2 separate regions of the Homo sapiens genome follow, and region 2 is linked to region 1. Evidence: promoter capture Hi-C in human tissues and cell types (Jung and others, 2019). All regions are on one chromosome and are shown on one strand. The core of a region is centred on a gene start or on the middle of the fragment in contact, and the rest is flanking DNA. Distances in the headings are between cores, read along the strand shown. Region 1 holds the start of AMZ1 (archaelysin family metallopeptidase 1). Region 2 overlaps EIF3B (eukaryotic translation initiation factor 3 subunit B).

Evidence for each region. The method cuts DNA at HindIII sites, captures the fragments that hold promoters and counts their contacts. A contact is called where the count stands out against the background at its distance.
Region 2: a contact is called between a fragment that was not itself captured here and the fragment with the promoter of AMZ1 in region 1, in 1 of the 25 tissues and cell types used here (dorsolateral prefrontal cortex).

Annotation. Positions count from the first base shown.
Region 1 is chr7:2,686,415-2,689,834 of GRCh38, reverse strand. It overlaps AMZ1 (archaelysin family metallopeptidase 1), which reads right to left and starts at 1,633. Exons shown (of 7, transcript NM_001384743.1): 1 at 1,539-1,633. RefSeq lists an enhancer at 665-934. The HindIII fragment of the contact is 48,320 bases long and covers 1-3,420 here.
Region 2 is chr7:2,361,781-2,365,086 of GRCh38, reverse strand. EIF3B (eukaryotic translation initiation factor 3 subunit B) reads right to left here. Exons shown (of 19, transcript NM_001037283.2): 3 at 2,323-2,442; 4 at 1,960-2,017; 5 at 1,327-1,455; 6 at 558-715. Among named protein-coding and RNA genes, the nearest start is that of EIF3B, 8.6 kb to the right of the region's middle. The HindIII fragment of the contact is 3,706 bases long and covers 1-3,306 here.

The DNA.
Region 1 (3,420 bases), core at 384-2,883:
CCAACCCATCCATGCTCCAAAAAGGAGACCCCCAGATGGAGGTTTCTCGCTGTCCTTTGGACCCTGTCACAGTGTGTCCCCCTCCTCTGCTAACTGCAGTCATGACAGCAGCCAACAGGTCTCATGCCTGCGTCCTCCAAGCCACACACGGAGCCGCAGGTGCCACTGCGGTGTTTCAGGTGGGGAAACTGAGGCTCAGACGTTAAGTGACTTGGCCCTGGCGACACAGCTGGGGGCCAGCGGGGCCTGGTTTCAAAGCCACGCTTCACACTGGAACCCCAGCTGCTCCTGGAGCAGGGATGTTCTGACGGGGACAGGGGGTAGGACGTCTCCTCTCCCAGAGCACCCGAGTTCCAGCCCTGCTGCTATTAATACCATGGGTAAACTCAGACGCTTCTCCTTCCTCCTCCCCTTGCCTTTTTTTGTCCAAAGACTGGAAAAGAGCACGTCCGCATCCCCCCCCCAGGGAGGTTCTGCCGCTCTAAGCAACAAGGGCCGCCAGACTGGCCCAGTAACCAGGTATCCAAGGTCAGGCTGCCCTAAACCGCACAGCTCCGGGCACTCATGCTCCCCCATCTGACCACGCAGATGCCTGGCCTTTGGGCAAGAAACCATGCTCTGATTCTCGCTATTCTGAATGCGCTTTGCAAAACCTCCCAGCAGCTGCATCGAGCTATTCATTAGCTGACAGCGGAGACCTTCAGGCAGAACCAGACGGACGGATGGTTTTGGGGGTTTCTCACCTCTCAGTTTCCATTCGCTAGGAGGGAAAACCGGGGGCTTAGACCGCAGGGGTAGTGGCCTCCGGGCCAGACTCTTGGCTTCCTGTTCTCTCTCCTCACCTGCGAACCCCAAACTCCTCTGCCAAGTGTTTCCCTCCCGTGATGGGGGCAGAAAGGACCCAGGTCCCTGCCCTCCCCTGTCCTTTGTAAAGTTTGCCATTTCTCTGTCACCCCTCCCTTGCTTTTCTGGTTTTGAGACCTGTCTTACATCCCTGCAGGGATCATATCCACAGCCTTCTCCCTCAGTCTCCTGGGGGAGGAAGCCTTCTCCCTCCCCGGCTCATACACAGGCTGCGGGGAGCCCTGGGCACGACGAGATTCTCGGCGCCCTGGAGGTTCCCCGGGGACGTCCCGCACCCACCTGGCTCGCCCCAGCCCGGAAACGCCTTCTTTCGGGCGCTTGGCCCTGGATTCCCGACCCGTCCCCAGTTTGCTCCCATCGGGAAGCGCGCAGGTCGCCCTGGCCTGGGAGAGGATGGCGGGGAGGGGGCGCGTGGCCCTTCCCTGGCCCGGCCTTCCCTCTGCAGGACCTGCCGGGGCTGTGCGGACCCCGGCGCGGCGCTGCACCAAACCCTCGCCAAGTGCGCCCTTCGCGTCTCCGCGGTCCCCGCGCGCCCGTAGCCGCCGCCGCCCGGGCGCCCTCGGGACTTGGTGCGCGGGCCGGGCTGGACCCGGAGCTGCCCCTACCCACCCGCCCCGGCACGGAGGTCCCTCTCGGTCCCTGCGCCCCCGAGTCTTCCCCGCGCGCCCCCCTACCTCGCAGTCCCGCGCCCGCCGGAGCCGGCAGAGGCCGCGCCGGGCACCGAGCCCCGGGCAGCAGCGTGGGCAGCTCGGCCTGGGCCGGGAGGATCGGGAGGTCCCGGTGACGTCGGCGCGCGGGGCAGGGACCGAGGCGGGCGGGACTGGGGCCGGTGTGGGGCCGCGGGCAGGACAGGAGGGCCACACCCCTCCCGGCGCTCAGCGTCCTGCCCCACTCCCTCCAGCTGCCCGCGGTGGAGCTCACGTGGGACCCTCCAGCCTCCCAGAAACACCCGGGCAGGGGGGCCCCAGAGCCTAAAGCCAAACAGGTGAGGGAGGTCAGTCAGCCCGGGCCAGTTCGTGCCTCCCCAGGTGAGAGGAGTAAACCCGGCTACTCTGCAAGGCGCCAGGTGAAGAGGTGAACCAGGCCACCAGTTAAGGCCCCAGGTGAGAGGGGTGAACCAGCGCCACGAGGTGAGGAAGGGGAACCAGGCCACCAGGAGAGGCCCCAGGTGAGAGGGGTGAACCAGGCTATCAGGCAAGGCGCCAGGTGAGGGGGTGAACGAGGCCACCAGGTGAGGAGGTGAACCAGGCTTATCAGCGAAGCCCCAGGTGAGAGGGGTGAACCAGGCCCCTAGGTTAGCCCTACAGTCAGTGGCCCTGAGGACGGGCGCCCTGCCCTACCCTGGCCAGCTGTGAGTGCAGCCCTGGCCCTGTGCCAGCCACCAGGAGATGGAAAGGACTCTAAGTGCGGAAGGATGCCGTGAAGGCCGGCATGACGGCTCCAGACAGAGCCCAGAGGCCTTTTCCATAAACTGCCCTTTTCCTCTCTGCAAACCCTCCCAGCACCAGCTTCCCTCGGGCAGCCTCCCACCAGCTCTGCTTCACCGTGCAGAAATGCCCCCCACGCCCTCAGCAGCGCCCCACAGATGGCTGAGGGATTCGTCACCATCGTCCCACACCAGTGCAAAGAATTTTTTTTTTTTTTTAGATGGAGTCTCGCTCTGTCGCCCAGGCTGGAGTGTAATGGTGCAATCTGGGCTCACTGCAACCTCCACCTCCGGGGTTCAAGTCATTCTTCTGCCTCAGCCGCCTGAGTAGTGGGGATTATAGGTACCCATCATTGTGTCCAGCTAATTTTTGTATTTTTAATAGAGATGGGGTTTCACCTTCTTGGCCAGGCTGGTATCAAACTCTTGACCTCATGATACACCCGCCTCAGCCTCTCAAAGTGCTGGGAGTACAGGCGTGAGCCACCACACCCAGCCTCAAAGAATTTTTTTAAGCCTTAAGAAATAACACGGCTGGGCGTGGTGGCTCATGCCTGTAATCCCAGCACTTTGGGAGGCTGAGGCAGACAGATCACAAGGTCAGGAGTTCAAGACCGGCCTGGCCAGTATGGTCAAACCCCGTCTCTATTAAAAATAAAAAAATTAGCTGGGCGTGGTGGCTGGTGCCTATAGTCCCAGCTACTCGGGAGGCTGAAGCAGGAGAATCACTTGAACCCGGGAGGCGGAGGTTGCAGTGAGCCGAGATTATGCCACTGCACTCCAGCCTGGGTGACAAAGCAAGACTTTGTTTCAAAAAAAAAAGAGAGAGAGAGAAAAACAACACAACACTAGGTGTCCGGTGTGCAAAATTTGGAAAATTATGAAAAATAAAAACAAAAAGAAGACCCCATAAGCCAACTGTGTAGAGGTAACCTCTCTCACCTTCTTGTCAGACATCCTTCTGATCGCCTTCTCCTCCACATTGAAATGTATTTTTAAAAAGTTTTTTTTGAGACAGGATCTTGCTCTATTGCCCAAGCTAGAATGCACTGGTATAAACGCGAGTCACTGTAGCCTCGACCTCCTAGACTCCAGCAATCCTCCTCCCTCAGCCTCCTGAGTAGCTGAGA
Region 2 (3,306 bases), core at 413-2,912, 320 kb after region 1:
CCGCTACTCAGGAAGGCTGAGGTGGGAGAACCGCTTGACCTGGGAGGCTGGGGTTGCAATGAGCCTGCAATGGTGCCACTGGGTGGCGCCAAGCCTGGGTGATAGAGGAAGGACAATTTATTATCTGTAAAATACGTGACCTTAGACTAGATCCTGAACTGAAGGAAAGTAAGTATTATACAGAACATTATTAGGTCAAGTAACAAAATCAGAATATGGCAATACATTGAAGTATTAAATGAATGGTAAATCCCTGAAGTCAGTACCCACACTATGGTCACACTAACAAAATCCTATTTCTAGGAATACACATTCAGGGCTAAAGGGACATGTTATTTCAACTCACTCCCAAATGGCTCAGGAAAAAATATCTGTATAGGAGATGATGACGTAAATGCAACCAAATGTGAGAAGATCTCAGTAAAAAGCTTATTAGCGTTCTGCATACTCCCGTATTTTTCTACTAAGTTTGAAATGCTACAAAATGAAAGATCACCTGTAGAAGGCTGGCATGGGGTGAAATGCATAGACTCCCCTGTGTTTTTCTAGCAGCTTACCTTTCACAAGGTGAGAAGTCAATAAGCTGAACCCCTTGGTGGCTGAATCTCTGAATTTGCTTGAATTTCTCTCCCCCCCATAGAGCAATGCCTCTTTGATGAAAGGTAGCCAGGTAGGTGCCCTTAGGAGACCAACGCACATACGTCTCTGTCCATCTCTGCAGAAAAAGGCAGTGCCAACGTTAATACAACAAAATGGCAAACACAAAGACCCCTCCTACAATGAATTTATCCTACAATGAATCTGTTCTACAAACTTTTTTTTTTTTTGAGACGGAGTCTCGCTGTCTCCCAGGCTGGAGTGCAGTGGCGCAATCTCAGCTCACTGCAAGCTCCACCTCCCAGGTTCATGCCATTCTCCTGCCTCAGCCTCCCGAGTAGCGGGGACTACAGGTGCCTGCCACCATGCCCAGCTAATTTTTTTGTATTTTTAGTAGAGACGGGGTTTCACCGTGTTAGCCAGGATGGTCTCAATCTCCTGACCTCGTGATCCACCCACCTTGGCCTCCCAAAGTGCTGGGATTACAGGCGTGAGCCACCGCGCCCGGCCTATTCTGCAAACTCTTAAGTGAAATACACAAAGCCTGTTCACTTCTCAGGATTTACTTCAAAGCTGGAAGAGGAATAAAAGAAGTTGTTTTCAGAAAGTAATCTCAAAGAAAATATAACGTCACCTGCTCTTCCAGTTTTCTGATAGAAACAAAGTTCCACTTTGTTAAGGAAATACAGGAGAGGTGAGTCCCCGCCCCCAGCAGCAGCAAATACACACCGCTCTTTCTTCAATTGAGACAGGGTCTTTTACGTCATTCCAGAATATGGAAGTGCGGTCTCCACTCTCAAAAATCACACTGTACTGATCTCTGCATTCTGCCTCTTCAAGCCAGTAACGTAAGTTCCCCTTAAAAACAAAGACAAGGAATATAACATTTCATTAATTTTAATAAAAAACTCATTCACAACTATTGCTCTTAAAGATATGACAAGTTCAGTCCACATCTTAACTCCCAAGTCACACCCTAACCTCAAGTCAAGACACCGTCTAGCATTTCTTTTTTTTTTGAGACAGAGTCACGCTGTTGCCCAGGCTGGAGTCCAGTGGCACAATCATAGCTCACGGCAGCCTCAACCTCCCAGGCTCAACCTCCCAGGCTCAAGTGATCCTCCCCCCTCAGCCTCCCAGGTAGCTGGGAATACAGGTGCATGCCAGGCCCAGCTAATGTATGTATTTATTTACTTTTTGTAGAGGCGGGGGTCTCACTTTGTTGCCCAGGCTGGTCTTGAATTCCTGGGCTTAAGCGATCCTCCCACCTCAGCCTCCCTAAGTGCTGGGATTGCAGGTGTGACCCACCACACCCAGCAGCATTTCTTTAAACCACTGAGATGTAGGTTTCAGGCCACTCACCAGGTCTTTGAAAGGCTGTTTCTCTGGAATATCCCACTCGTCACTGATCGTCATATACCTGGAGAAGAAAGGAGACTGCTGAGCCCCACGCCCTGACGACTAGAAAGAGCAACTCGTGGGGGCTCCAGCATGGCCCTGCTGTGCTCCTGCCTGCCCGCCCCCAGGGCTGTGACTGGCATAACAGGGAGGGGTGCTGTAGGCCAGAAGTGTGGGGCAGGGCTGTGAAATGGCTCTGCGGCAGCCTGACCAGAAAGGATGTGAACAATCTGACAGACACCAGCACCGAGAAGCACCAAGCCACCCGCACACAGCCAGTCACTTGCACGTCAACGTCCACTTCCTTGTGGCCAAGTCTGAACTCACTTGTCAAAATCCGTAAAGAGGTTGACCCGGAATGTGTGCTGCTTGTCAAGCTTGTAGCCGTCGGCGTTCTTCACAGCATCCACAGCGTGGGCAGGGGACGCGTACTCCAGGAAAATATACCTGAGTGAGAGAGGGCCGTTGGCACATACCCACACTGTAAGGCTAGGCAGGTATGCGCTGTCCGCCCCACCCCTCTCCACGGACAAGCCCTCGGTGCCAGGAGTATCTGTGCTGCTCTTCCTGCCTCGAGCCTAAGGCAGTCACACGGGGGACAGATCCACAGCCAGGGAGCTCCTAAGTGACAGGGAAATCCTAACCAGAAGATCCGAAGTCTCTAGTTTCATTATCATAATTATAGAAAAGTTAATCAAAACGTCCATTATTTTGACTGTGGCGATGGTTTCGTGATATGTACACATCAAAATGTATTAAATTGTACGCTTTAAAACTATGCAGATTTACTGTATATCAATTATCTCAATAAAGCTGTTTAAAAAAAAATCTTGGCTGGGCGCAATGGTTCACACCTGTAATCCCAGCACTTTGGGAGGCCAAGGTGGGCAGATCACTTGAGGTCAGGAGTTCGAGACCAGCCCGGCCAACATGGTGAAACCCTGTCTCTGCTAAATATACAAAAATTAGCCGGGCATGGTGGCACATGCTTATAATCCCAGCTACTCAGGAGGCTAAGGCAGGAGAATTGCTTGAGCCTGGGAGGCGGAGGTTGCAGTGAGCCAAGATCGTGCCACTGCACTCCAGCCTGGGTGACAGAGCAAGACTCTGTCTCAATAAATAAATAAATAAATAAATAAGCAAGCAAGCAAGCCAGGCGTGGTAGTGTGCGCCTGTAATCCCGGCTACTTGGGAGGGTGGGGCAGGAGAATTGCTTGAACCCGGGAGGCGGAGGTTGCAGTGAGCTGAGATCACACCACTGCACTCCAGCCTGGGCAAGAGTGAGACTGTCTCAAACAAACAAACAAACAA